7 separate regions of the Homo sapiens genome follow, and all the other regions are linked to region 2. Evidence: promoter capture Hi-C in 16 types of primary human blood cells and fetal thymus (Javierre and others, 2016). All regions are on one chromosome and are shown on one strand. The core of a region is centred on a gene start or on the middle of the fragment in contact, and the rest is flanking DNA. Distances in the headings are between cores, read along the strand shown.

What was found. Contacts are between HindIII fragments. The CHiCAGO score rates a contact against its expected background, and 5 or more counts as called.
Region 1: a fragment that was not itself captured here is called in contact with the fragment with the promoter of CAMK1 in region 2 in 1 of 17 cell types (neutrophils); the score reaches 6.8 in neutrophils.
Region 3: a contact is called between a fragment that was not itself captured here and the fragment with the promoter of CAMK1 in region 2, in 2 of 17 cell types (monocytes and activated CD4 T cells). The highest score is 5.5, in monocytes.
Region 4: a contact is called between a fragment that was not itself captured here and the fragment with the promoter of CAMK1 in region 2, in 3 of 17 cell types (monocytes, erythroblasts and total CD8 T cells). The highest score is 7.0, in monocytes.
Region 5: a contact is called between a fragment that was not itself captured here and the fragment with the promoter of CAMK1 in region 2, in 6 of 17 cell types (naive CD8 T cells, activated CD4 T cells, erythroblasts and 3 more). The highest score is 8.2, in naive CD8 T cells.
Region 6: a fragment that was not itself captured here is called in contact with the fragment with the promoter of CAMK1 in region 2 in 1 of 17 cell types (neutrophils); the score reaches 5.2 in neutrophils.
Region 7: a contact is called between a fragment that was not itself captured here and the fragment with the promoter of CAMK1 in region 2, in 3 of 17 cell types (monocytes, naive B cells and activated CD4 T cells). The highest score is 7.5, in monocytes.

What each region holds. Positions count from the first base shown.
Region 1 is chr3:9,385,017-9,389,102 of GRCh38, reverse strand. THUMPD3 (THUMP domain 3 tRNA guanosine methyltransferase) reads right to left here. Exons shown (of 10, transcript NM_001114092.2): 10 at 2,312-4,086. THUMPD3-AS1 (THUMPD3 antisense RNA 1) reads left to right here. Exons shown (of 4, transcript NR_132781.1): 3 at 976-1,016; 4 at 3,180-3,839. Among named protein-coding and RNA genes, the nearest start is that of THUMPD3-AS1, 9.6 kb to the left of the region's middle. The HindIII fragment of the contact is 4,058 bases long and covers 421-4,086 here.
Region 2 is chr3:9,767,460-9,771,584 of GRCh38, reverse strand. It overlaps CAMK1 (calcium/calmodulin dependent protein kinase I), which reads left to right and starts at 1,638. Exons shown (of 12, transcript NM_003656.5): 1 at 1,638-1,753; 2 at 3,804-3,918. The coding sequence starts at 3,836. It also overlaps a transcript of OGG1 not described here. RefSeq lists a silencer at 1,688-1,867. The HindIII fragment of the contact is 10,493 bases long and covers 1-2,986 here.
Region 3 is chr3:10,209,420-10,213,702 of GRCh38, reverse strand. It overlaps IRAK2 (interleukin 1 receptor associated kinase 2), which reads right to left. Exons shown (of 13, transcript NM_001570.4): 4 at 4,011-4,114; 5 at 302-496; 6 at 155-219. Among named protein-coding and RNA genes, the nearest start is that of TATDN2, 37 kb to the left of the region's middle. The HindIII fragment of the contact is 2,369 bases long and covers 1,505-3,873 here.
Region 4 is chr3:10,192,761-10,196,822 of GRCh38, reverse strand. All of the region lies in intron 2 of IRAK2 (interleukin 1 receptor associated kinase 2), which reads right to left. Among named protein-coding and RNA genes, the nearest start is that of IRAK2, 30 kb to the right of the region's middle. RefSeq lists an enhancer at 1-98. The HindIII fragment of the contact is 326 bases long and covers 2,000-2,325 here.
Region 5 is chr3:10,261,025-10,265,025 of GRCh38, reverse strand. All of the region lies in intron 3 of TATDN2 (TatD DNase domain containing 2), which reads right to left. Among named protein-coding and RNA genes, the nearest start is that of TATDN2, 15 kb to the right of the region's middle. RefSeq lists a silencer at 902-1,091. The HindIII fragment of the contact is 1,822 bases long and covers 756-2,577 here.
Region 6 is chr3:9,442,406-9,446,184 of GRCh38, reverse strand. It overlaps SETD5 (SET domain containing 5), which reads right to left. Exons shown (of 23, transcript NM_001080517.3): 11 at 2,768-2,877; 12 at 885-1,137; 13 at 445-528. Among named protein-coding and RNA genes, the nearest start is that of SETD5, 47 kb to the right of the region's middle. The HindIII fragment of the contact is 4,722 bases long and covers 1-3,779 here.
Region 7 is chr3:10,159,160-10,163,331 of GRCh38, reverse strand. No RefSeq gene overlaps it. Among named protein-coding and RNA genes, the nearest start is that of IRAK2, 3.7 kb to the left of the region's middle. The HindIII fragment of the contact is 1,059 bases long and covers 1,856-2,914 here.

The sequences.
Region 1 (4,086 bases), core at 1,200-3,699, 380 kb after region 2:
GCTTTGGGATTGGTTTCTGGACAGCACTCCCCCACCCTTGCTGGCCATTTGCCAAGGACACCAAAACCCAAGGATGTTGAATTCCCTTTTATAAAATGGCGCTGTATCTGCATACAACTTACACACATCCTCCCATATACTTTAAATCATTTCCAGATTTCTTATACTTCATACAATGTGAATGCTATATAAATAGTTGTTACATTGTGTACTTATATTTGTACTATTGTATTAAATATTCTCAAATATTTTCAAGCACATTTGGTTGAATCTGCAGATGCAGAACCTGAGGATATGGAGGGCTGACTGTGCTAATACGTTATCAATGGATGCGTGCATAAACATGGCTGGACTTGTTACTTGGCTTGTATTTGCCAGGCATCAGCACCAACTAGTTAAAGATACTCTTACGTGAAAGCTTGGCAACAAACACATGTCCTGAAATAATGCAAGTGTAGAATAACTTTTTAAAATCTCATGGTTTATGCTAAACTATATGTTGACATAAGAGTGGTGATAAGGCAACAGTAGGTAAAAGTAAAATTTCAGGCACCTTGGCACAAACTGTGGCAGTGGCATCAAACTCTAAGTTATTTTTCACTGCCATGCATTTGTGGTGTGAACCCCCACAAAAGAAAAAAACCAGTTTCACTCAAGAATGTCCTTGTGAAAGCAGTGACATTTTGTTAAATCTTAAACCCTACAGTACATAACTTTTTGAAATGGTTGTCTCAAGAAAAAGCACTCATGTAAGCTGAATTATCTGCTATTTCCTTGGAGCCTAACAACTGACAGCAATTGTTTTCAATGATAAAATCCAAACGTTGAGTCAAAATCAGAATTTCGGGAAAACTTGTGTCTAATATCAGGAACTTGACAGCTTCCCAATACTTCATGAGATAGTGATATTGAAAATAATTTTTTTTTTTTTTTGGGACATCTGGCTGACTGCAACCTCTGTCTCCTGGGTTCAAGCAATTCTCCTGCCTCAGCCTCCTGCATAACTGGGACTACAGGTGTGTACCACTGTACCCGGCTAATTTTTGTATTTTTAGTAGAGATGGGGTTTCACCATGTTGGCCAGGGTGGTCTTGAACTCCTGACCTCAGGTGATCCACCTTGGCCTCCCAAAGTGCTAGGATTACAGGTTTAAGCCACTGTGCCCGGCCAATGATATTTTAGGTAGTATACAGTAAAATGGGCCAACATTTGGGAGATTGACATAACTCAGTGAAGCTATATTTTCCTAATGACTAATACGTGAGATTATAGAAAACTGCTAGTAACATTGTAACCAATTGAATGCAAAAGAAACAATTCAGTTGTCTTCTATTTAAGTCAGACATTTAGGGAAACAATTGCCAAAATGTAAAACAATGCACCTATTTTTTTAAAAATATGCATTTGTTGCTATAATATTTAAATATTTTACTTTCTAATATGGTAAGATACTAGTAAAGTGATTTGGGGCCCTCAATCTTTAAGAATGTGAAGGGATTCTCTGAGGCCACAAAGTTTAAGAAATGGCTACTCTAGCACAAACGCACATAGTAAATACTCAAGTACCTGTTGAATGACTTCATGGAGTTAAAGTGACTCCTGGTATTAAATCTGTATGGCTGGGATAATGGGCATGCTAGGACAGGAAGCAGATTTCCTTAACTTCACCACTGTAACTCATTAACAAACATGTTAGCCTGAGACAGAAGTATTAAGGGGCGACAGGAAAGCCTTTCATAAGCAATGTGATGCTTTTTTTCACATTATTCAACATGGTTTAAAATTTGGTATACAGGCCTATGGTGTTTGTCCTGAACTTTTGCCAGAGTAGAATGGTTCATGTTTTTCCTCATAGATTTTCACTCCTCACTAAACTTCATGACATCTAACATGAACTTATTAGAAAAGGCTATGCTTGAGAATAAGGATATCTTTTTTCTATGCCTATGTTGTTAATGAGTATGAAGCACTTACAGGCTTTTATGTACTTGAGGTTCCAAAGACATTTCCAAATTTTCCCATTTTCAGTCTTCAACTTAACATTTTGGTCCTTGCAGTGGAGACCTGAGTCCTATCTGACATTGGGACTACAGTTAGGGCAGAATTTCCTAAACTGCCATTTTTTAAAGAAATAAGGGTAACCAAATGTTCCCCTTAAAAGCACTCTGGTACCCTCTAGTATTGGGAGATAACTATCTTCCCCTAATTAGATTTGTAAAATCTTTCTCAATATTTATTTACATTTTTTTCCCCTCAAATATATTGACTTTTTCATTCCCAGTAACAATATGTCTGGTCTGTAACTAAGTCATTCCATGTTCAGATTACAGATTTATTTCCCCATCTTTTCACATTCTTTTAGTCCAGGAGACCCACTTTGAAGGTTAAAACCAAGGTCACACAATGAATAGGTGGCAGTGTCACATATAACTCAGCTCCAGGCCTTATGAATCCTGCTTATAGCCCACTGCCTATTCTAGTCACCAGATTGAAAAACACCATACTAGGGAAGAAGACGGCAAACTATTGCCCACTACATATTTGTATCAGTCTTGTCAAATTTTTATTGTAGTATGTAATAGAATTAAAGCTATGATGAATCAAGTAAAAAATGATTTCCTTAAAAACTAAGCTAATAGGCGAAAATACTCGCTTGTTCAACAAATACCCAGTCTGGCAGATACAATACCCTGCCCTTAGTGGGGGGTGGAGTGGGGGGTGGGGGGGTGGGGAAAGACATCGTGGTGAAAACAGACATGGTCCTTGAACTTCCTGGTTCTGTGGGTTGCTTAATTTGAGGTTTAAATGGTTTCTCCCATCAGGTGAAAAGTTTTGTGTTCGGCCCATAAACAAAGCAGCTGTGAATTCTGATAGTGGTAAAAAGGCCAGTCTAGGATATAAAACCTTCATAAACATCTTATTTCCCATTCATTATGAAGTGTGGGGTAGGAGATCAGAGAAACCAGATGAGGATTGCTGGCTGTGCTGCTAATGTGAACTCTTCTTTCAAAAGTATTGTGTCCTTTTATTCTCAATGGAGACATCAGAAAGTATTAAGAGGAGTACTATTATAATACTAATAGGATACTGAAAATCTATACTGATTGCAGCCAGAGGCTCCAAAATAAACAATACTATGATGAGTTCCACAAAAAAACCTCAACTACTCTTTGTTCCAGGGAAGCACCATTTTCCACAAAACTCTCAAGAAGGACTTGTTGCAACTGGAAAAGCAATTAAATGTGAATCGTGATCCAGGAGAAAGTAACAACTCACATAACTCCCAAATTAAAAGTTTTCCAAAGATATATCATTTTTTTTCTCTTGGCCTTTTAAGAAACTAGCCAACAAATACTCTTGACAGGTTTGTGTTTGGTTTTGAAAACACACACCTTAGTGTACTGAAAGAAAAACAATTTCTTTTAATTTGGTTTGTTGGTCCCACACCCCATCTATCAATGTATGTGCTATTTACAAATAAGTTCTATACAGTATTTTTGCAGTACCTTTGATAATTCCTAGACCTCTATTTTCATTCTGTGTATTAATGTGAATAACAGATGGATATTTTAATATTTAAGGCAGATGGTAAACTTTCCTATAGGTCTTGTGAGACTTCGTCTTATAGGCTGAACACCATTCACAAAATGTAATAATGCTTCATTCCTTCAGGTTGAGGTAAAGAACTTGAGCAACTGGATTAGCAAAGCTGCAAAGAATGAAATGTGGCCTAAGATGTAATTATGTTCTCTGCCCTTCCTTTGGGCCAGGGTAGTTTTGCACTTGACACAATGGAAAATAGGCCATAAAGCCTGAAAATAAAATGTTCTAAACCCCAATCTCACAGCACTTTAGTAGGCTTTTCACTAGGCATCTTTAAAGTATTTTCAACAAAATACTAATTAAGCTACCACTTCAAAAGAGCTTCAAGGAAAAGCTCTGCTTTCTTATAAAATCTTTTTGAGACAGAGTTTCGCTCTTGTCGCACAGGCTGGAGTGCAATGGCGTGATCTCGACTCACCGCAACCTCCGCCTGCTGGGTTCAAGTGATTCTCTAGCCTCAGCCTCCTGAGTAGTTGGGATTAC
Region 2 (4,125 bases), core at 389-2,888:
CTGGCCAAATCAAGTCCTCTCTCTGAGTCTCAGTTTACACTGAGTCTAGCTCTCATGTTTTGAATAGTGTTCTAGGCACTTCATATCATTATATCATAGAATTCTCAGAACTCTGAGTCAATCTTCAATATTCCCATGTTCCCGAGTAAGAAACTGAGGTTCGGAGAGGTAAAGCATGACCAGGATCAGTTAGACTCCAAAGCCTTTCCAGGAACCTCAGCTATCTTCCTCTCTCATCTGTAAGATGGGCATAATAAATTGGCCAGGTGCAGTGGCTCATGCCTGTAATTCCAGAACCTTGGGAAGCTGATTGGGGAGGATTGCTTGAGCCCAGGAGTTTGAGACCAGCCTGGGCAATATAGTGAGATCCCCATCTCTACAAAAAATAAAAAAGCCAGGTGTGGTGGCACGCACCTGTAGTCCCATCTACATGGGAGGCTGAGGTAGGAAGATGACTTGAGCCCAGGAGTTTGAGGCTGCAGTGGGCCGTGATCATGCCATTGCACTCCAGCCTGGGTGACAGAGCAAGACCCTGTCTTAAAAAAAAAAGAAAAAGAAAAAAAGAAGAAGAGAAAGAAAGAAAAAAGAAAGAAAGAAAGAGAAAAAGGAAATGAGCTGGGCATAAGCACTGTTCTCTCCCCATCACCAGCTGGAACATGCAAGAATTCAGGAGTAGGGAGTGGCACTTGGAGGCCCTTGGAGGTGGAGTGGGGTCCCAAGCAACGTGCCTCCTCCGGCTGCCCCCAGTTCAGCCCCATCCCCAATTCCTGCGAGTTGCTCCCCCCGCCCCCTCTTTCCACTCGGCACCAAATTTCTTCCCAAGGAAGGCCTTGAGCAAACCGACCTTTGGCCTCTTGCCTGCCGTCCTAGTTGCAGGCTCTCTCCCCTAACCTGGACCCCAGCCATCAAACTCTGGAGCCCCGCCAGTCACGTGACACCTCGGTCCTTTTTGGCCTGTTTCCTTCAGGATCCCGATTTAACTTCCTCCTCCCCAATTCCCTCTGCCCCCAATACCTCTAGGCACCACCACCCGCTCTGAGGAGCAAGTGTCTGGGGCTGAAGCCTCAGCTCCATCTTGCAGAGGAACCGGGGCCTCAGTCTTCCCACCTGTCAAGTGGGGCCCACACCCTGCGACCACCTCCACTCTCTTCATTGCCTAGTCTTGCCCGGTCCTTCCCCACTCCCTCACTCCCCCATCCCCCACCAGACTCCCGTGCAGTTCCAGGGCCTGTTTCCCTTCAGGGCACGGAGAAGGGAGACAGAGCCCTAAGGGAGGTCGCAGAACTGGTCTGAAAGAAAATCCACCAGGCCACAGGGTGAGTTTGGCCGGCCTCTAGCTTCAGACAGACGGGGTTCGAATCCTGCTTTGCTTCCGACCACCCGCTGATTTGAAAATCATCTCTCCGGGCCTCAGTTGTCCCCTCTGTGAAATGGACCCCGCTTAAGACCAAGGGCGGGAAGCGTCCAGCAGGAGATCTCTGACCAGAAGCAGGGAGATGGCCTCCACCCGTGCCCCTTCCCCAGCCTTGGAGCGGTGCCTCGCCTCCCAATCCCGGGTCCCTCCGCCGCAGGCTCCACCTCCACTGACATCAGAGCCGCAGGCGGGCGGAGAGAGCCGCCGAGCCGAGCCGAGCCCCAGCTCCAGCAAGAGCGCGGGCGGGTGGCCCAGGCACGCAGCGGTGAGGACCGCGGCCACAGCTCGGCGCCAACCACCGCGGGCCTCCCAGCCAGCCCCGCGGCGGGGCAGCCGCAGGTACAGCCGGGCCCCCCATCCCTGCACCCCTGGGCGCTGCGTGGGGGCGGTGGGAGCCCCTAGCCTCTGGGTATCCTTTCCCAAGGAGTGGCCACTGGGCACTCTCCCGGGCGGGCTGGACCCTGAGGGGCAGGGCTGGGCCTTTCTCCACCTCTGTCCCAGGCCCAGCAGGTGCCAGGCGGGCCTATGGGACACTGAGTGGGTAATAGAGAAGGGGGCCTGTGTGAGCGCCTTCAGCTGGGCCTGACTGGAAGGGCGTGGGCATTTGGAGGTATCCATGGGGTGGGGGGGCTTGCGGAGTGTACTGTCTTAGGACAGGCGTGTGGGTCAGACATGGGTGGAGGATCTGGGAATCTGTGTGTTTTTTGTTCCAGAGGGGTGTCCACGTGTTTTGTGTGCTGGTATTTGGCTCTCAGGGTCTTAAGTCAGAGTTAGGAGGGGGTGTACAATTGTGTACTGAGGATGTTTGGAGTTAGGTGTGTAAGGACTTGGGGTTTGGTTTGGAATACAGGAGCTTCCAGGGGATGGGGTAGAGGAGCTGGAGGGTGTAGGGTACGTCTGGTATATGAGGGTGTGTGTGTGTGTGTCTGGGTGTCATCTTGTGTGGGTGCGGGTGGATGTGTGTTTTGGGGTGTAAGAGGGAGCTGGGTGAGGGATGTTTGGATGGACAGGCAGGTGTTCGGGTGCAGGGCTGTCTGGGGCACTGTGTGGTGTGGACATGTGTGCTGATGTCTGGGAGTACATGTATGATCAGGTGTCACGGGATGTGGATACAAGGCGTACTGGATCTGGGAGGCAGGTGTTTGAGTTCAGGGCTGTGGAGGGGGCTTGGTGTGGCATGTCTGCTACAGGGATGTGTGTGGATCTGTGAGGGTTGTATTTGGTAGGCCTCCATGTGGGTTTCAGACTCTGCCTCTAGAGCTTACACTCGAGTCTCCTTTCCTAGAAGATTCTGCCCCTGGATGGGTGGGCAGGGTCCCCTGGGAAAAAGGTCCTGTTCCAGGAGTGGAATCTCACACCAGAGGCCCTAGTCAGGGCACCTTCTCCTCATTCTCCCTTAGAGAAAAAGAGAGAAGGAAAGTGCTCTCCCTGAGGTCACAAAGCATGCTGGGCTCTGTTTTGGCCTCATCTGTGGATGGGTTGGGAGGCTGTGTTCTCTGAATGGGGCCCATTCTGGCTTCATATTGGAAGTACCAGCCAAGGCCATTCGATGGCCTTTGCCCTCAGCAAGCTTAGCTGGGGGCCCCAGGCCAGGTGTCATTAGGGCCTCTGGAGCCAGCCTCTACCTAACTCCAACCTCAGTCTCCCCATTCTTCATCTGATAAATGGGAGAGAACTCCCACCCTCTCCTGCTGGATGAGACAGACCTCAGCAGAGGAAGGGCCAGGCTGGATAGGGTTAGATGGGGCCAGGAAGGGACAGAGTGAGCAGGACCATTTCTCATGCTCCCGGGACCCAGATGGGGAGTCAGGAGGGAGAGGTCTGGGGAGCTCCAGCTGTGGCTGTTGTTGCTGTGGTAACAGTGCAGAAAGAGCTATTTAAAAATGTGGCTGAGATGTTGCTGGAAGCCCAGGCTGCTGGAAACCTGATTTCGGAGAGGCCGGGGAGTCGGGGGAAGGAGGAGGGAAAGGAGACACCCCAGCAATCCCCAGGGTGGGGCGGGGACATCACTGGTTCTGGGGACAGGGGGATCCTCCAGGCTTCTACCAGCTGCTCTGGGGGTTTATCTGTTGTACTGCCAGAAGTCAGGGTTTCCCTAGGTGCTTGGATTTGGATAGGGGGAAAACTGGGAAGAGAACTAGAATAAATGAATGAATGAATGCATGACTTTGTTAAATAAAGAATTTTGCTGCCACTGTGAAAGGTTTTTCTCTAGGCATGAGAATTTGCTGAATGTTGAATAAACAAATGAATGTTTGTTGAATGATTTTGTCAAATGGATGAATCAAGGATGAATAAATGCAGGTTGAATGACTGAATGGGGCCTGCAGTAAATTCCCAGACAGAGGGCTGGGCTCTGCTGAGTCTCCTCCTTCCATTCTCCTTACAGGAGCCCTGGCTGTGGTCGGGGGGCAGTGGGCCATGCTGGGGGCAGTGGAAGGCCCCAGGTGGAAGCAGGCGGAGGACATTAGAGACATCTACGACTTCCGAGATGTTCTGGGCACGTGAGTCCAGGGCAGGATTGGGTGCTGGATGGCTGAGGGAGGCTGAGTCCAGGGTGGGGCTTCCTCTGGTCAATTAATGCTTCCTGTTTCCCACAGCCCAGGCCCTGTGGCAGCACTATCTAGGGCCTAAACTGTCCCCAGCTTTTCACTTCTGGATGACAGTGGGTGGGACACGGGCTGCTCTCCCAATAGCCCTGGGTTCTTGAA
Region 3 (4,283 bases), core at 1,440-3,939, 440 kb before region 2:
GTAAAATAATGTGATAATAGTAGCTACATTTATAGGGTTCTTGTAAGGACTAAATGAGTTTATATATAATAGAGTGCTTAAAACATGACTGGGCACACAGGAAGCACTATATAAAGGTTAGCTATCATTATTACTAAACAAAGGGGAGGCTTACCTAAGACAAATCTGCAACTCTGCCTGGAAGAATCTTTCGATTGATCCTGGACTTGAACAGGCTGTCTGTAGAGAAAGACATCAGAACATGAAGATCCCGCCCCACCCCTGCAGCCTCCACCCCCACTAGAAACCAAGAAGTGCTCACCTCTCTGAGCTTCTTGAAGACGAATGGCTTCCCGTGCCTGTGCCCTCTGTAGACGTCAGCAAAGGTCCCCTGGCTGATTTTGCGGTTTTGATTGAAGTCATCGGTTGCCTGGACCACGTCTGCCTCACTCCAGAAAAGGCTGTCTCCAGCCAAGCTCAAAAGTTTTTCCTGCTTAGGAATGGAGGTGCTGAAGTCCTGGAGACCCAGAGAGAAGAGATGGAGATTACTATGGAATCTCGTTTTCTCTGCTACCTCAAGGGACCTTGGAACACCAGAGATGGAGGGATGGAGGGGATCAACTTATCCAATGGAAACTGTAAAAAGGACATGGATAGGCCGGGCACGGTGGCTCACGCCTGTAATCCCAGCACTTTGGGAGGCCGAGGCGGGCGGATCACGAGGTCAGGAGATCAAGACCATCCTGGCTAACACAGTGAAACCCCGTCTCTACTAAAAAATACAAAAAAAAATTATCCAGGCGTGGTGGCGGGCGCCTGTAGTCCCAGCTACTCGGGAGGCTGAGGCAGGAGAATGGGGTGAACCCAGGAGGCGGAGCTTGCAGTGAGCCGAGATCGCGCCACTGCACTCCAGCCTGGGTGACAGAGCGAGACTCTGTCTCAAAAAAAAAAAAAAAAAAAGGACATGGATAGGCCCAAGCTCAAATCCCAGCTCCATCTGTATCTTGCTCTGTGACCTTGGGTGAGTTACTTAACCTCTCTGAGCCTCAATTTTTTCCATCAGCAAAAATGAAGGTAACAATAGTACCCCGAAGAGTAATTTTGAAGACTAAGATGTGAGTATTCCTGGCACATGGTTGATGTTTCCTTTATTTCAGTTTACAGAAGTAAGCACTGAGGAAATAAAACAGCTGAAGTGAGGTCCCACAGCTGGTCAGTGGCCGAGCTCAGCACTCTTGGTCTAATTCACAGCATAGATACTGGGGTTCCAGACTCCTGGGAAGTAGGATACAGGTTCATATAACCAAACCAGGGGTGTCCAATTTTTGACTTCCCTGGACCACACTGGAAGAAGAATTGTCTTGGGCCACACATAAAATACACTAATACTAATGATAGCTGATGAGCTTTAAAAAAAAAATTGCAAAAAAAACTCATAATGTTTTAAGAAACTTTACAAATTTGTGTTGGGCCACATTCAAAGCCATCCTGGGCTGCACACAACCATGGGCAAGTAAGACAAGCTTGCTTTAAACAGAATTCCAGAGACTGCATGTGTATATAAGCCTATAAAAAGAAGTTCTGTTTCCGTTTTTAATAACTTCTCTCTTTAAAACACATGTACGTAATTTTTTTTTTTTTTTTGAGACAGAGTCTCGTACTGTCACCCAGGCTGGAGTGCAGTGGTGTGATCTCGGCTCACTGCAAGCTCCGCCTCCCAGGTTCACGCCATTCTCCTTCCTCAGTCTCCCGAGCAGCTGGGACTACAGGCACCCACCACCCTGTCCGGCTAATTTTTTGTAATTTTTTTAGTAGAGATGAGGCCTCACCGTGTTAGCCAGGATGGTCTCCATCTCCTGACCTCGTGATCCGCCCGACTTGGCCTCCCAAAGTGCTGGGATTACAGGCACGAGCCACCGCGCCCGGCCTAAATTTCAATTTTTTTAAGTTACATATGCTCTTAACAGTTTTTGAAAATTAGTATCCATAACCCCATTATCCATTTAACTGCTATTAAAGTTAGTGTATTTCCGGCCAATTAGATATACTAGGATTTATTTAACAAAACTGGTATCATGCCACACACATAGTTTTGATTTCTTTTTGAGACAGGGTCTCACTTTGACACCAAGGCTGGAGTGCAATGGCATGATGTCAGCTCACCGCAGCCTCAACCTCCCAGGCTCAAGGGATCCTTTCATCTCAGCGCCCCCAAGTAGCTGGGACTACAGGTGTGTGCCACCACGCCTGGCTTATTTTTTAAACTTTTTTTTTTGGCGAGGCCAGGCACAGTGATTCACTGCTTGTAATCTCACCATATGTGGGAGGCCAAGGCAGGCGGATCCTCTGAGGCCAGGAGTTCAAGACCAGCCTGGGCAATATGGTGAAACCGTGTCTCTACTAAAAATACAAAAATTAGCCAGGCGTGGTGGCACACACCTATAATCCCGGATACTCAGGAGGCTGAGGCAGGAGAATCGCTTAAACTGGGGAACCAGAGGTTTCAGTGAGTCGAGACAGCCTGGGCAACAGAGGGAGACTTTGTCTCAAAAAAACTTTTTGGCCAGGCACGGTGGCTCATGCCTGTAATCCCAGCACTTTGGGATGCTGAGGTGGGCGGATCACATGAGGCCAGGAGTTCAAGACCAGCCTGGCCAACATGGCGAAACCCTGTCTCCACTAAAAATACAAAAAAAAATTAGCCAAACATGCTGGCATGTGCATGTAATCCCAGCTACTCAGGAGGCTGAGGCAGGAGAATAGCTTGAACCTGGGAGGCAGAGGTTACAGTGACCAAGATCGTGCCACTGCACTCCAGCCTGGGCAATGGAGCGAGACTCCTCAAAAAAAACACAAAAACAAAAAAAACTTTTTTGTAGACACAGGATCTCACACTGTTGCCCAGGTTGGTCTCAAAGTACTGGGCTCAAGTGAACCTCCCATACCAACCTCCCAAAGTGTTGGGTTTATCCTTCATGGAAGGTTGATCTATTTATTAATTTAGAGATGGGGCCTCCCTGTGTTGCCTAGGCTGGTCTCCAACTCCTGGGCTCAAGCGATCCTCCCACCTCAGCCTCCCAAATAGCCAGGACTACAGGCATGTGACACCACACCTGGGACATGGAAGAGCTTCATTAACCACACTCATGCAAAGCTGGCTTCTCCCCCAGGCACTGGATGCAAAGGGTCTAGGCTCACAACACTTTTAGGGGCCATCAGAACATTTTAATTTATTTTAAAATCAGAAGAAAATAAATGGACTTTTAGAGTCAAAGAAATGTCCTCATTTTTAATCCTGCTTGGATTTTATTTATCTTCGTACCAATATGGTCATACATTTTTGGAGACAGGGTCTCACTCTGTCACCCAGGGTGGAATGTGGTGGTAGGATCACAGCTCACTGCAACTTCTGCCTCCTGGGCTGAAGCCATCCTCCCGCCTCAGCCTCCCAAGTAGCTGAGACCACAGGTCGAAAATAAAATAAAATAATAAAAGAAAATAATGGCCGGGTGCAGTGGCTCATGCCTGTAATCCAAGCACTTTGGGAGGCGGAGGCAGGTGGATCACCTGACGTCAGGAGTTCGAGACCAAGCTGGCCAACATGGTGAGACCCCGTCTCTACTAAAAATACAAAAAATTAGCCGAGCATGGTGACATGCACCTGTAATCCCAGCTACTTGGGAGGCTGAGGCAGGAGAATCACTTGAACCCGGGAAGCGGAGGTTGCAGTGACCCGAGATCGTGCCACTGCACTCCAGCCTGGGTGGCAGAGCGAGACTCTGTCTCAAAAATAATAATAATAACAAATTAAAAAACAAGAAGTATATTCACTGAAGTGCCCTCCCTCCCTCTCCCCGCTATTATTGACCTCCTCTACTTACAGTCTTAGAAGCTTGGGGTAATTTGATGGCAATTTCCTTTCTCCTCTCCACCCTTAAACTGGTCTCAAGGGGTAGAGAAATTGCATTTTTGAGAGGGAACTACACGCTGGGAGACATGGCTTGGGGGCTGCAGCCGAGGGGTGGATTTACCTTTGAATCAGACGAAGTGGGGAGGTCGCTTCTCAAGGAATGAGGGGCATCTTCTTCAGGAGGCTGGAGAAAGGCCGGCTGGTGGGCTCTGGCTGGAGAGGACCCTGGAAAGGAGGGACTATGGGTCAGGATGCAGCCTCGGGGAGGAAGACAGGAGGGATCCTGGTCTAGTCCTCAGACTATGCCAGTCTCCTGTTCACTCCCCAAACACTTGTTGCTGCCAATTCCTGACACCCACCATGTGCCAACCAACACACTCCTCAAGCATCACCT
Region 4 (4,062 bases), core at 913-3,412, 420 kb before region 2:
ACGTTGTGTATTGATACGTTCAATTCAAGCACCCTCCCCACAACCCTGGAGATCTCAAGTCAGGAAGCTGAGGCTCAGCGGGGAACAAGACCTGCCCAAGGGAAACAGGGAGGCAGGCAGCACTGAGGCAGGAAGGCGGGGTCTCCTCCCAGAACCACTGACGTAAGGGCACCCAGAGAACATGCACTTCTCTCCCAACCTGGGCTCCACGGGCACTTCAGTGGTTCTATAGGCCACACCCCCCCATCCTGATTGCCATCAGGCCAAGGCCTTTGTGGCTGAAACTCGGAGTCTAGAAGCCAGTTTCTCTCCAACAAGGGCCTTGCCTGCAGGAATCACAGGATCACTGTCTGCCTCATGGCATCCCACTGCCTTCCACAGGCCCAGGAGGAGAATAAACAGTCCCTAGGCCGGGCACAGTGGTTCACACCTATAATCCCAGCACTTTGGGAGGCCAAGGAGGGCAGATCACCTGTGGTCAGGAGTTCTGGACCAGCCTGGCCAACATGGCGAAACCCCGTCTCTACTAAAAATACAAAAATTAGCCAGGCGTGGTGGTGCACACCTGTAGTCCCAGCTACTCAGGAGGCTGAAGCAGGAGAATCGCTTGAACCTGGGAGGCGGAGGCTGCAGTGTGCTAAGATTGTGCCACTGCACTCCAGCCTGGGCAATAGAGCAAGACTCTGTCTCAAAAAACAACAACAACAGAAAACCAGTCCCTTGTACAGAATGACAATGAACAATGTCGGGGTGAGTGCTGATTCAAGCACGGGTCTGGAACAGAGCTGTCGCTCCCAGGGTGCACAGAAGTGAAAGCTCTGCCTGTGCTCCCTTGGAAGGCTACCCCCCGCCACTCCCAGTCCTCATCTTTCCCAGCCTCCCCTCTCTGGCAGGGAGAGACTGCCTCTCTCCCTCCACCCTCCCTCCTCAAACTGCCTCAAGTGGGGCTTATGCTCCTGGAAAGGCTTGTCATCCTTGTGACATCTGTGTCAAAAGGGCAGCAGTGGCTCCCCTGGCTCAGGGCCGGCTGGGCTCGCTGAAGTCACTTCCCAACAGTGACCTCCTGCAGAGGCCAGGCCCGCAACAGTATAAAATGCTCCCTAAAGGTCTCACCTACACCCAGAACCGCCCATGATCCCAGCAAATGAGGCACCTTCTCCTTGTCGGAGGCCTGCCTGGCTGAGCCTCATTGTTCTCATCACAGTAAAACGGGGATGAGGGTGATACTTACAGCCTTACTTAACTTCAGTGTCCTGTTCCTTTTTTTTTTTTTTGAGACAGGGTGTTGCTCTGTCACCCAGGCTATGCAGTGGTGTGATCACAGCTCACTGCAGCCTCAAACTCCTGAGCTCAAGCTATCCTCCTCTCTTAGCCTCCCATGCCGCTGGGATTACAGGCAACACCACGCCCAGCTAATTTTTAATTTTGTGTAGAGACAGCATCTCACTATGTTGCCCAGCCTGGGCTCAAACTCCTAGGCCCCAGTGATCCTCCCACCTTGTCCTCCCAAAGTGCTGGGATTACAGGCCTGAGCCACTGCTCCCAGTCCAGTGTCCTATTCAGGGTAATGTTTTGTTCAGCACAAATCTTTGCCTCTCTGTCAAAACACATTTGGCAGGAACATCAAGGCCACCAACCCATTTGTGGCCGACCTCTGTGGGCTCCACCCGTGGGGAAGATAAAAAATGTCATTATGTTTTCATCCTAAAGAGAGTCCAGCTTTTCTCTTTCTTTTTCTTGTTCCTTCTGCAGTGACATGCGGTGGCCCCACCTGGCACCACAGGGCATTTGGAAGTGAGCAGGAGTGAGGAACAGATGGGGAGGGGCGGTGTCGGCAGGGCTACCTGTGACCAGACCTGTCAGCACACTTGGGGCTAACATCCACCCTCCCACACAAGAGGCACCAGGTCACACCAGCCACGGATGTAAGCCAACAGAGCCCCATGTCAGCCCCAACAAGAAGTTCTGGTTTCCTGTGAAACCCCCATCTTCTCAAGCTTTGAGTTTTTAGATGTCTTTAAAATGCAAGCAATAAATGGTGCGTATAAACATGAACCGCCCTCATCTCCACCCTGGAGCTGCCGGCATGGTCTGAGCTGGGTGGACAGGCAGGCCCATGCATGCCTGTCCCACTGTCCAAACATGAAGATGGAGAAAATGGCCTCTGTCCTCATCCCTCCAAACCTGCTCCCTGCTAGCTAGAAAGACGCAACGCCCACTCATTCAGGCTGGCACACCAGAGAGCTAGTGAAATAAAAATAGAACACCAAAGGCAGGATGAGGCAAAGGAGGCCAAATGCCTACAAGAAAGGGCTGTGACAAGCTTTAACTCTCGCACTGAGCTTCCTATCTGCCAAGGCCAAGGCTCAGGAGTGAGCTGCTCACGGACTTCTTATCACAGATAGACAGGGGCAGCCTCAGGCTTCCAAGACAGCACTCTTTCCTCCCAGGATTAAATTCTCAAGAGAATTCCACACATAAAGTTGATTCTGCAGGATCATGAGATCCAAAAACACAGACTGTGATCAAAGAGTAGAACTAGGATCACAAGAGTAAGCGTGGGGAAGCGTCGGCTCTGGCTTGAGCCAGACCCAAGCTCTGCGATTCCAGCTTCACGCCCAGGCACAGACCTCCTAACCCTCTGAGCTTCATGCGCCTCTCCTGTGGAATCAGAATAATAACCCCACACCTCCCAGGGCCGTCCCAGGGCTCCATGATGACAAATGTGAAGTGGCTGGCCCAGGGCAGGGGCCCACAACACTGTGCAAACAGCCACCCTCCTTCAGTTCTGCCAGAAAGGTGCAGATAGAAAAGAACCTCTGATTCCCAACTCGGGCCTCCGAAGGAAGCATTTAGGGTGGAAGGCTATTTTTAACATTTTAAACACTCTAATGGAAACCGATTCTAGGTGGGCAGCAACTTGGTGCACAGTCCCGAGAGGTACAGTGGCCATGAGAGCAAAGTAACATAGGAGCCCAGCAGCAGGGGAGGTGGGGGCCTGTGCCCACGCCATTGGCAGCCAGCCTCAGTCACACACTGGAGGTGGGCAGCCCAGGGTTCTCCCTGCTGGGACCCCCAGGGATAGGAAGGGGACGCAGGTGACGGAAGGAACAGCTAATCTATAGCTTAGGTGGCCACAGGCACCAGAAGGTTGACACGGCAGTTCTCAGACAGAGTCTGGATTTTTTGTTTTTGTTTTTGAGGCAGAGTCTTGCTCTGTGACCCAGGCTAGAGTGCACTGGTGCAACCATAGCTCACTGCAGCCTCTACCTCCCAAGTTCAAGCAATCCTCCCACCTCAGCCTCCCAAGTAGCTGAGACCACAGGAGCACGCCACCACGCCAGGCTAATTTTGTTTTTGTTTTTGTTTTTGTTTTTTTTTGGTAGAGACAGGGTTTTGCCATATTGCGCAAGCTGATCTCAAACTCCTGGGCTCAAGCAATCTACCTGCCTTGGCCTCCCAAAGTTCTGGGATTACAGGTGTGAGCCACTGCACCCAGCCTGGAATCTGGATATCCGTGAAAGCTGCCTTGCTGAGGCTGAGAACCCACAGTGATGAGGGCTGAGTCCCAGATACAAGGAGGAAATGGGGGAGGGGCAGAAGCGCTTCTCTGTGCCCCTGTCATGGTTCACCAGAGCTGGTTGCCAGGCATGATTTCTTTTTCTCTCTGATTTGTTTTCGGAATGCCTGTGCTCTTCCTAATGAGCATGAATCACTGATGCCACGGAAGGCAAATGAACTCCCGCAGTCTGGAGTGTGTCCTGCAGTCAGGCTCACCAGCAGGGGGATCCTCCTAAGCCTTGGCTTCCTCATCCGACAAATGAGATGTGGAAGTGGACCCCCGACCCGAGACCAGCCATGAGGATAAAAAAATTAACACCCAGCAGATCTAAGCTACCATCATTTGCTATAGTCTCGCTCTGTTGCCCAGGCTGGAGTACAGTGGCACGATCTCTGCTCATTACAACTTCTGCCTCCTGGGTTCAAGCGATTGTCCTACCTCACCCTCCCGAGTAGCTGGGATTACAGGCAGACACCATCACGCCCGGCTAATTTTTGTAT
Region 5 (4,001 bases), core at 417-2,916, 490 kb before region 2:
AAAAAAGACCAAAAAAAAAAAATCAACATAAACGTTAGAAGATAAACTTGAGCCAGGCGCGGTGGCTCACGCCTGTAATCCCAGCACTTTGGGAGGCCGAGGCGGATAGATCACCTGAGGTCAGGAGTTCGAGACCAGCCTGGCCAAAATGAAACCCCGTCCCTTCTAAAAATACAAAAATTAGACAGGCATGGTGGCATGCGCCTATAGTCCCAGCAATTCAGGGGTCTGAGGCGGGAGAATCGCTTGAACCTGGGAGGCAGGGGTTGCAGTGAACCAAGACCAAGCCATTGCACTCCAGCCTGGGTGGCAGAGTGAGACTCTATCTCAAAAAAAAAAAAAGAAGATAAAGTTGAAGAAACCATCCAGAAAAATTTTTTAAAAAGGATTCACTGGGAAGAAAAGAAAATTGGAATTTCCATCCGAAAGACCAAGCATAAAATAGATGGTCCAGAAAAAGAAGAAACAGACAAGAAATCAAATAATCAAGAAATTTTCCCAGAACTTTTCTAGGCTAAGGATGTACTGAACAAATTCGACTTATTTTACTCTTTCCTGAAACCTCACTAAAACTAAAGAATCTAAAAACCAAACAAAAAACAAATAAAACCCCTCTACAATAACAAAAACACCAGAACAGGAAGAACAAGAGACTACAGTGATCACGCACTGGAGGCTAGAAAGCAGATGGCCAAATAACACCTCACTGGCAGACCAAGAGAAGGCTGAGACCTAAGCTAGGCACCAGGAAAGCTTAGAACAGAGCAGGCACTCGCGGTACTGGGCACCTTGGGAACTGGAGGAACTGGAGTTACAGAAGAACATTAAAAGGAGGAGGACAGGGTGAAATCTGGTTTCCAATGAGTTAGATCCCAGATTCCCTCCTCATACTCAGAGAAGGTGAGTTGTTTGAAGACAGTAAAACAAGAGGATCTCTAGAATAAGGCCTGGTCAGCTCAGTGGAGGGCACTGGTACTGCACCAAAAAGACAAAGATTAAGTGAATGCTGACGCCGCCCCCGCAGCCGCCCCTTTCGCTACCCAGCTCCCAGCCACCTTTCCTCCTAAGCAGGCTGAAAAACACTCCTCTGGGCAAGGTGACCAGTCTCGAGGCTTTCCTAAAAGCAGTGACATGGCAAGGGGAAGAGGGTTATATTCTCCCGATCATCCCAAAGCAAAGCTCAAAGTCTTTACGCTCAGAGCTTCCAAACAGCTTTTTAATCCTCCCATTCTTGATCATAAACAGACAACCAAAGATTACCAGACATGTGAAGGCAGCCTCTAACACAGAAGAGATCAAAAGAAACGGAAAGAAGCAACTTAAAGAAAACTAAAACCAAGCCAAAAAACTACCATGAACTCCCTAAAAGAGATAACAGAAGATGAAACAAGAACAGAGATGTTATTAAAAAACAAAAGAGCTCTTGGATAATAAAAAGCATGACAGTAGAAAAGTAAAACTAAATAAACAGCTGGGTTGGAAGATAAAGAAAAGGAAATATCCTACAAAGTAAAGCAAGAAATTGGCTAGAAACAAGGGAGAAAGGCAATAAAATTACAGGACCAGTCCTGAAAAATCCAACATCCAAATAAGAGAAAGAAGGTAGAGAAGCTAGAGAGAGAAAGAGAGAAGAAAAATACGGAAAGAAAACATCAGCGAAGTACAGTAATTCACGAACTTTTCCCACAGCTAAAGTACAAGGGTTTCTAGATTGAAAGGGAATGTCCCATGCTAAGCAAAGTAGACACCACCACCATGAAATTTCAGAGCCCTGAGATCAAAATATATTCTACAAGATTCCACAGAGGGAAAAAAAAAAAAAATACAGGTTGGGCACGGTGGCTCACACCTGTAATCCCAGCACTTTGGGAGGCTGAGCCGGGCGGATCATGAGGTCAGGAGTTCGACACCAGCCTCACCAAAATGGTGAAACCCCATCTCTACTAAAAATACAAAAATTAGCCGGGTGTGGTGGCACATGCCTGTAATCCCAGCTACTCACAAGGCTGAGGCAGGAGAATCGCTTGAACCTGGGAGGTGAAGATTGCAGTGAGCTGAGATCACGCCACTGGACTCCAACCTGGGTGACAGAGCAAAACTCTGTCTCAAAGCAAAAGAAAATAAAAAATAAAAAATCATATACCAAGGTTCAGGAACCAGCATAGCTTCAGACATCAAGAAAACCAGAAGAGGCCAGGCGAAGTGGCTTACACCTGTAATCTCAGTACTTTGGGAAGCCTAGGCAGGTGGATCACCTCAGGTCAGAAGTTTGAGACCAGCCTGGCCAACATGATGAAACTCTGTCTCTACCAAAAATACAAAATTAGCCAGGTGTGGTGGCGTGTGCCTGTAATCCCAGCTACTCGGGAGGCTGAGACAGGAGAATCACTTGAACCCAGGAAGTGGAGGCTGCAGTGAGCCAAGATCACACCAGTGCACTCCAGCCTGGGCAAGACAGAACGAGACTCCACCTCAAAAAAAAAAAAAAAAAAAAAAAAGCCCAGAAGAAAAGGAGCAATGCCTTCAAAATCCCAAACAAAACAATTTCCAACCTGGAATTCCAAAACCAACCAAGCTTGTAATCAAGGTTAAAGGTAAAATAAAGGCAATCTCAGACACATGTTTACCAAAAAAAGTTTCTCCATGTACCCTTTCTCAAGAAGCTACTAGAAAAAGTATTCCACCAAAATGTGAGAGTAAACCAAGGAAGAAGAACATGAGAAGACACAGAGTATAGGTAGCAGAAGACTCAATCCGGGAGAAATGTGAAGGAGGCTCCAGAGAGACAGCTGCCAGCTGGCCTGACGGCAGGCAGTCCAGACCAGAGCAGGACAACAGAGGGCTGAGGACGTATACCTCCAAGAGAGAAAAAAAAGAAACAGATTCCTTATTTTGACAGTATTGAGAAGGATTTTACAGCTCTCGCAGTTTGGGGATTAATTAGTGAAAGGTACCAGGAAAACCAAAGGAAAAACAAAGTAATGATGAACTTTAAGGAAAATGAAGTTTTACAAGAAAGAAAATGTGATCAGAGTATACAAGGCGACTCAGCTGTGAACATGGCAGTAACAAATCTTACACAGACTTAACCCAAAAGGTATTCAAGCCACACAGGGAGGCTGCAGAAAGGGGAAGCTAATGTGTCCCTGGGTGTGGGTGCTTCTGAAGGAGGTATAGAGAACTAAATTCTCATCGCCCAAGCAAGAAGTCCTCAGACATCTAAAACTGAAAAACTGATCAACAGTAAAGATTATTTAGAAACATGGGGTAAGTACTAGAAGAAAGAGCTAAAGATGAGAGAAGCTGCCTGCAGAGCAGTAGTAAAGGATGGGTGGAGACGAGTAAGATGGAGGAATGTGGCCTGGCACAGTGGCTCATGCCTGTAATCCCGGCACTTTGGGAGGCCAAGGCAGGTGGATCACGAGGTCAGGAGTTCGAGACCAGCCTGGCCAACATGGAGAAATCCCATATCTACTAAAAATACAAAAATTAGCCGGTTTGGTGGCGCACACCTGTAATCCCAGCTACTCAGGAGGCTGAGGCAGGAGAATTGCTTGAACCCAGGAGGTGGAGGTTGCAGTGAGCCAAGATTGCACCATCGCACTCCAGCCTGGGCAACAGAGCAAGACTCTGTCCCAACAACAAAAAAAAAAAAAAAAAGAAAAAGATGGAGGAATGCTTCCCCTCAATTATAAGCTATGTTAAAAATCACTAGTTTCCGTCCAATGACATCCTTCCCTTCTTCTCTGGTTATCCAGGTACAAGTCTGCCTAGATAAAGGCTGATTTTCCAGACTCCCTTGCAGCCAGGTGTCAGCCGGGTTTCCCCGCTCTTGTCAACAGCAGATACAACATGTGCAACTCTTGAGCCAAGCTCTTAACAGGGAAGGAATGCACTCTCCTCTTCTCCCCTTCCCACTGGCCAGAATGCCCAGATAACAAACCCTGAGTCCTATCAGAGTATCCATTTCACACCAAGAGATGGACACTGTGTTGAGGGGT
Region 6 (3,779 bases), core at 281-2,780, 330 kb after region 2:
CTCCCGAGTAGCTGGGACTACAGGCACCCGCCACCGCGCCCGGCTAATTTTTTGTATTTTTAGTAGAGACAAGGTTTCACCGTGTTAGCGAGGATGGTCTCGATCTCCTGACCTCGTGATCCGCCCACCTCGCCCTCCCAAAGTGCTGGGATTACAGGCGTGAGCCACCGCGCCCAGCGGAAACCAGATTGTTAGTAAAAAAAAAAAAAAAAAAAAAAACAACCTCTTCAAACCATCACTAGATAATAATCACTACAAAACTACTGTGTGTATAGAGAAAAATAAATAAAAAAATTATAATAAAATCTTTATTACGGAAAAAGCCCAAATTATAACCTTCAGGTCAAATCAATGAGATGATACAAAGTCAAGAGAACAGAAGAGGTTCACATGATGGAGGTAGCAGGAATGAGAAGGAGCAAAGTAATGTCAGACAGTACTCACCCTCCTGCTATGAGCTAGGTTCTCCTGGTCATCTATAACCTCTTCTTTCTCTTCTTCTGGTTTTTCTTCTGGATTGTCTACTTCCTTTAAGATAGAGGCAATATTCAGCTGTACTCAAGCTCTGAGAAAAAATCAATCTGTTTTATTCTGGTAGCTTAAAACTCTCTATAACAATCTCTAGTGCTTTAAACTGTTAACTCATGTGAGGCCACATGGTAAACACAGATGATAACTAACCCCTATTCTCTGGTGCAAAACCAGCAAAGGATGTTTTTGACTTTGTAAAACAGAAAGAAATGTATGAACACAATAAACCCACATTGATATAAAGGGCACTAAGTGTTACTATAGCTCCCCTACTTAAACCATGCGGCAACCCGGGTTCCTCTTCCTTTGGAGGATTGATGCCATAGCATCATCATTTGACCAGGGGCGATTACCTCATGATCACTGGATACAGTTACTTTTTCTGGAACTTCTTGTGATTGCTGGTCATTATTCTCCTCTGAAGCCTCATTCTGCTGCTCCATCTCTAGCTCTTTCCGTCGTGCTTTTCTACGTCTAGTCTCTGCTCCAATGGTGGGTAGGCTTGGAGGAGGTGGTAGGAGTGGCAGTTCTGTAGCATTAGGATTCCTTTTTTGTATAGGACAATTCCGGTTTCCCTTGTGACAGGCACAGTCCACTTTATAATTACTGCTCCAAAGAAACAACCAAAATGCCTGTCTCAGTACCCTTGAAATTCAGTTACATTATCCATTCACCCTCTTAAAATATCAGTACAGTAACTTCCTCTGATATTGTCTCTGAATAAGTTAAACAGAGACATTAGAGAGTCCTATAAATACTTTTGTTTTTCTTTTTATTGGAGACGGAATCTCGCTCTGTCATCTAGGCTGGAGTGCAGTGGTGCATCACAGCTCTCGGTAATCTCTGTTTCCTGGGCTCAAGTGATCCTCCTACCTCAGCCTCCTGAGTAGCTGGGACTACACGCCCAGCTAATTTTTTTATTTTCGGCAGAGACGGGGTTTTGCCATGTTGTCTAGGCTGGTCTTGAACTCCTGGGCTCAAGTGATCCTCCAGCCTTAGCCTCCCAAAGTGCTGGGATTACAGGCGTCAGTCACCGCGCCTGACGTAACACTTTCAATATTCTGTCTTTCTTTGTGTAACCCCAATTCTACTCCATGGTCAGTGGGAAAAAAAAAAGAAAGCCCTCCCTAAATTCAATCCCCCCAGTGGTTTATTGGCTATTTAGCAGGCAGTTTATCAATGATAAAGTCTGATGTGGCCATACTCATCTTGTGCCCACGATTACCATGTCCTCACTTTTACCTACTAATTCCCTACTTCTTAAAACCTTTTATAACCTTCTTAAAACCTTTTTTATTTTCCTTGATGAATTAAGCAGAACATCTTTTTTCCTTATACCTGGGCCAAACATCACTTTACCACATAACCTCTATTTTGCCCCAAATGACCAAAGAACAAAAAGCATATACTTTAAAAAATCCCACATATTCATCTATGAATTGCCCTTTATGGTTTTCTGCACTGTCATATACAGCTAGATAACATGGTTTCTGTGGACAGGGTGGATCTTTAAATCTCACCCCTAGCTTTATAAGGGTATAATTGACAAATTAAAAGTAGAGGTAACATATTAAATTCTCTCTCTTTTTTTTTAAGACAGAGTCTCCCTCTGTTGCCAGGCTGGAGTGCAGTGGCGTGATCTTGGCTTACTGCAGCCTCAGCCTCTCAGGTTCGAGTGATTCTCCTGCCTCAGCCTCTCAAGTGGCTGGGACTACAGGCGTGTGCCGCCACGCCCAGCTAATTTTTGTGTTTTTAGTAGAGACAGGGTTTCATCATTGGCCAGGATGGTCTCGATCTCCTGACCTCGTGATCCGCCCGCCTCAGCCTTCCAAAGTGTTGAGATTACAGGCCTGTGAGCCACTGCGCCTGGCCTAAATTCTCATTCTATATGGTCCCTGACATAAGTACTCTGTGCATAACAACAGGATGCTATTGTAATTTCCAGGAGTGTCTCATACATACATATATATCCATTTTGCTATTCTTGCTAAAAAGGCATAAGCGAAAACACTTCTGTCAGGAAATTTGTGAGCAGTATCATACAAGGTATCCGTATCTCTAAAAAAAATCTTGCCTGTCTTTTCCTTTACAATTTCTAGGCAGAAAATTCATTAGTCATGAAAAGATTAAGTAAACAAAGGAAAAGGCAAGAAACAAGAGCAGACTTTAAATAGAGTGAATAGCTTAATATGTAAGACATGGATATTCCTGTTAGGAAAGGTTTCTGAGGTCTTACCAGTTACTATACTCATAATCAAATGCTATGGTGACCTCAGCATCCTTGGTGATGGCAGACACAGCATAGATGCACAGGTGAATCATCCCATCTGCAATCATGTGTCGCACCTGTGTGAAAAGGCTTCTGGTTGGATTTTTCATAAAGACCATGAACTTTCCGTAAGAGAGAAAAAAACCATACTTTCTCTCCATTTGGAGTTATGGTAATCTATTATTTATTTAAGGAGTTATGGTAATCTGTTATTTAACCCCTTCATTTCATCTGAAACTATTATACTGCACTGGCTTGAAAATTTATAATACTTTCTTAAATATGTGGAGAAACCTTGAGATGTTAGAAATCAGGGTAAAATCTCTACTTTCACATCTTTTTTTTGAGATACAGTCTTGCTCTGTCGCTCAGGCTGGAGTGGAGTGGCGTGATCTCGGCTCACGGCAACCTCTGCCTCCCGGGTTCAAGCAATTCTCCTGTCTCAGCCTCCTGAGTACCTGGGAATACAGGCACACGCCACAATGCCTGGCTAAGTTTTCTATTTTTTTTTAGTAGAGACGGGGTTTCACCATGTTGGCCAGGCTGGTCTCGAACTCCTGACCTTGTTATCTGCCCACCTCAGCCTTCCGAAGTGCTGGGATTACAGGCATGAGCCACTGCGCCCAGCCGCTTTCACATCTTATAGCTGTTTCCAGCTCCACCAGAGAATTAAAATTCCTTAGCCAGTAAGTAAAGCTCTGTGGATTTTCTTGCTTTATTTGATGTGGTTGCTCTGAGTAATGAATTCTAGAAATGTCTAGATCCTCTCATAAAACATTACTCACTAAAATCTAAAAAAACTGCAACCAAATAGCTTAGTTAGGCCTAACAACATCTACTTCCACCGTATGGCAATCTCTTTAATATAACTACACTTGATTTTCTTATCCAGTCTAGCTTTTTCTCCTTAGCAAATGCTAACTTGCTCTTTTCTATTTCTGCCTTCTCTAAAGAAAACTCTTTCCTTGCGCCCATTTTG
Region 7 (4,172 bases), core at 1,136-3,635, 390 kb before region 2:
GTGGCCAATTGCATTATCTTAGATGATACTATTACTGGGAAAAAAGCAGAGTATGGTGCAGGGGACTGCAGGACAAACTGGATTATTAAATAGGGTATAAGGGGCTGGGTGCGGCGGCTCCCACCTATAACCCCAGCACTTTGGGAGGCAGAGGCAGGCAGATCGCTTGAGCCCAGGAATTCGAGACCAGCCTGGGAAACAGAGCAAGACCCTGTCTCTACAAAAATTAGCCAGGCATGGTGGCATGTGCCTGTAGTCCCAGGTACTTGGGAGGCTAAGGTAGGGGGATCACTTGAGCCCAGGAGGTGGAGATTGCAGTGAGCCAAGATTGCACCACTGCACTCCAGCCTGGGTGAGAGTGAGACCCTGTCTCTAAATAAACAAAGAGGGTACAAGGAACAGAATTTATAGTGTGTGTATACATATATATATATATATATATATATATATATATATATAAAATACACACACACATATATAAAATAGCTAGTATTTATTGAGCACTTACTATGTGTAGCCTTCACCTGGGTTACTTTACTTACTCCTTACAATGACCCTCTGAGGTAGGTATGGTTATAGCCCCATTCTACAAATAAGGAAACTAAGGCACAGAGAGGTTAAATAATATGGCTAAAATCATTTGAACCTAAGTATTCTGACCCCAGGCTCTCCATCACCACTGGCTAAAGTATATTGTAGATACAGATACATTTATCTGTATCTACAATGTACTTTGCAAAAATGATCTTATGTCATTCTTACAAGCCTATACTATAGATATTATTATCCCCATTTTACACAGAAGTAAATAGATTCCAAGAGGTTAGGCGAGGTCACGAAGGGCAGATAAGTAACTAGAGTAGGTACCACTGTATAGCTGTGGCCGTCAGCTATGGAGTAGCGCTGCAAAAGGAGGAAGCTGAAATCAAAGTGAGAAGTCCTAGGGCCAAGTTGCAGTTCTGCCACCAACAGGCTTTGTGACTCTGGACAACTCATTTCATTCGTCAAGCCTTGTTTCCAGCATCTGTAAAGTGGGCCTGCTCCTTCCTACTGCTTAGAGTTGTGAGGGGAGTGGAATAAATCAAATTATGTAGCCTATATAGAACACCTACTACAGGGCTTTCCTCGCACAGAGAATGTGCCCAAAAAATGGTAGCTGTCATTAGTGGTCTTGAAAAGGCACCCACTGGCCTTGGAGTCCTATCAAGTTTGGAGACCTGGTTCAGCCACTCTCCGGCTCTTAGTCCTTTGAGCCAGTTCTGTTTTCCCTTTTGGAAACTGGATCTCCTGCTGCAGCCACTTGGAAGGATTGTTATGAAGCCTAAATGGACTCCAAAACGCTCAAGATCAACTGTGAAGTGCTGAGCCCAGTAAAGGATTACTATTATGTCCTCCTTGATGTTGAAAGTGGGACATATTTCAGTGTTCTGAGACTACTTTTCAAGTGAAGTCCTGTGTTTTCAGCAGTGGCTGAAGGTGGACTTGGGAACTGTAATGATTGTTTGCCATAGGCTGGGTGGAGAAGCATCTCCATCCCAGGCACACGGGGGTAAAAGAGAATAAAGATCCTCTTCTTTTTCTCCTTTTCTCTTTTTGCAGAGTCCCCTACCTGCTTCTCCTTCTCTTCCGCAAGCAGCGTGTGTGTAGAGCTCCTCCCTCAGTGCCACAGGGCCTCTTCCCTGGGGTGAGGCTTTAAGACCACGGAAGTTTCACATTCAGCCTTGGTCAATCCTGGAAGGCAGAGGAGCCCCCACTGCTCTCTCTGCTGCATCCTCAGGCCCTTCCCGCAATTCCTTCTCACCCCAGCCTCAGGGCTTGGGATCTGTGTCCTAGGATTCTGTCTTCCAGAGAAGCTTGAGTCATTTTGGGCCTGAGCAGGTCATCACAGGGACACATCTCAGTTACCACTCTTTAGAATAAGTTCTTCAAAGTAAGGTCTTTGCTATTACTAATGGTTGCCCTTCACCTACCAACTCACCTAGCAGGCATTTAGCATACATTATCTGTAATCCATACAACCCTGCAAAGGTTTATTGTTTCTGTTTTACAGATGAAGAAACTGAGGCTGAAGTCAATTGTAACTGGGCCAAGTTGGCCAAGTGACAGTGAGGTAGGGGGCAGCACTCGACTCGAAAGGAATGGCTGGGACATCGGACCAAATTGAGGACTAGCTAAAACAGGTGTGGTGGGAAGTACCTCGCATAAGACACTGCCACCAGTGTACCTTGTCAGTTTACCATTGCCATGGCGACTCCAAGAAGTCACCGCCCCTTTCTAGAATGTTCTGCATAAACTGCCCCTTAATTTGCATATAATTAAAAGTGTGTATAAATGTGACTGTAGAACTGCCTCTGAGCCACTACTCTGGGCACACTGCCTATGGAGTAGCCCTACCCTGCAAGGAGCAGTACCTCTGCTGCGGCTGCACACTGCTATTTCAATAAAAGGTGCTATTTAACACCACTGGCTGGCCCTGGAATTCCTTTCTGGGTGAAGCTAAGAACCCTCCCAGGCTAAACCCCAATTTGGGGGCTTGCCTGTCCCGCATCAACAGGATGCAACTCAAGTCTGACCCAAAGCAAATGCTCTTTCTGCTGTGTTATACTGCCTCACCACAAGAAATTTCCTCTGATCTTGCAGTTAATTTCTTCCTCTGGCTATTTTCCATGACCAACACCCACCAGGATCAGTTAGAAACAGTTATTGAGGCTGAATGTAATTAATTACACACTTACGTCATTTTGAGCTGTTCAAGTTTAATTCCCTTGAAATTATAGTCAGTGGTTTGCAACCCTGGCTGCACAGTAGAAACATCTGGGGTGCTTTTAAAAAGTATAAATGCCTAGCCCTACCTCCAGGGAGACAGATTCAATTATTCTGGAGTGGGGCTCAGGCACTACTGTTTTTTAAAGCTTCCCAGATAATTCTAATATGTGCTGGCACAGTTGAGAACCAGTCATATCAGAAAGCTGGGGCAGAGGCCAAGCATGGTGGCTCATGCCTGCAATCCCAGCACTTTGGGAGACCGAGGTGGGTGGATCACTTGAGGTCAGGAGTTCGAGACCAGCCCAACCAACACGGCGGAACCCCGTTTCTACTAAAAATACAAAAAAATTCGCTGGGCGTGATGGCACGCACCTGTAATCCCAGCTACTTGGGAGGCTGAGGCAGGAGAATCATTTGAACCCGGGAGGTGGAGACTGCACTGAGCCAAGATCATACCACTGCACTCCAGACTGGGGGACACAGTGAGACTCCATATCAAAAAAAAAAAAAAAAAAAAAAAAAAAGCTGGAGCAGGAGGGAAGACTGATGAAAGGAGAATAATAAAGCTTCTCTATGCACTTTGCATATATTTTTCTTTTTTTTTCTCTCTTTTTGAGACGGAGTTTTGCTCTTGTTGCCCAGGCTGGAGTGCACTGGTGTGATCTTGGCTAACCGCAACCCCTGCCTCCTGGGTTCAAGCAATTCTCCTGCCTCAGCCTCCTGAGTAGCTGGGGTTACAGGCATGTGCCACCACACCCAGCTAATTTTGTATTTTGAGTAGATACGAGGTTTCTCCATGTTGGTCAGGCTGGTCTCAAACTCCTGACCTCAGGTGATCCACCCACCTCGGCCTCCCAAAGTGCTGGGATTACAGGCATGAGCCACCGCGCCCGGCTATATTTTTTTTTAACAAAAATATCTTTATTGGTTTCTCTGATAGCATGTGATATTTGTCAAAGACAGAAAGAAAGAGAAAACAAACACCTTCCCATAACCTCATCCCTGAGGAATCACCATTATTGTTTGGAGTATATACTCCTTTTACATGTTTTTAGTCCTATACAAAATGATTTTTTTTTTTTTTTGAGAAGGAGTCTCACTCTGTCACCAGGCTGGAGTGCAGTGGCGAAATCTCGGCTCACTGCAACCTCCGCCTACCGGGTTCAAGTGATTCTCCTGCCTTAGCCTCCCAGGTAGCTGGGACTACAGGCGCATGCCACCACACCTGGCTAGTTTTTTGTATTTTTAGTAGAGACGGGGTTTCACCACGTTGGCCAGGATGGTCTTGATCTCTTGACCTCGTGATCTGCCCACCTCGGACTTCCGAAGTGCTGAGATTACAGGCGTGAACCACCGTGACTGGCCAATTTTTTAAACATATTTTCTTTTTTGCAGACACTATGGTG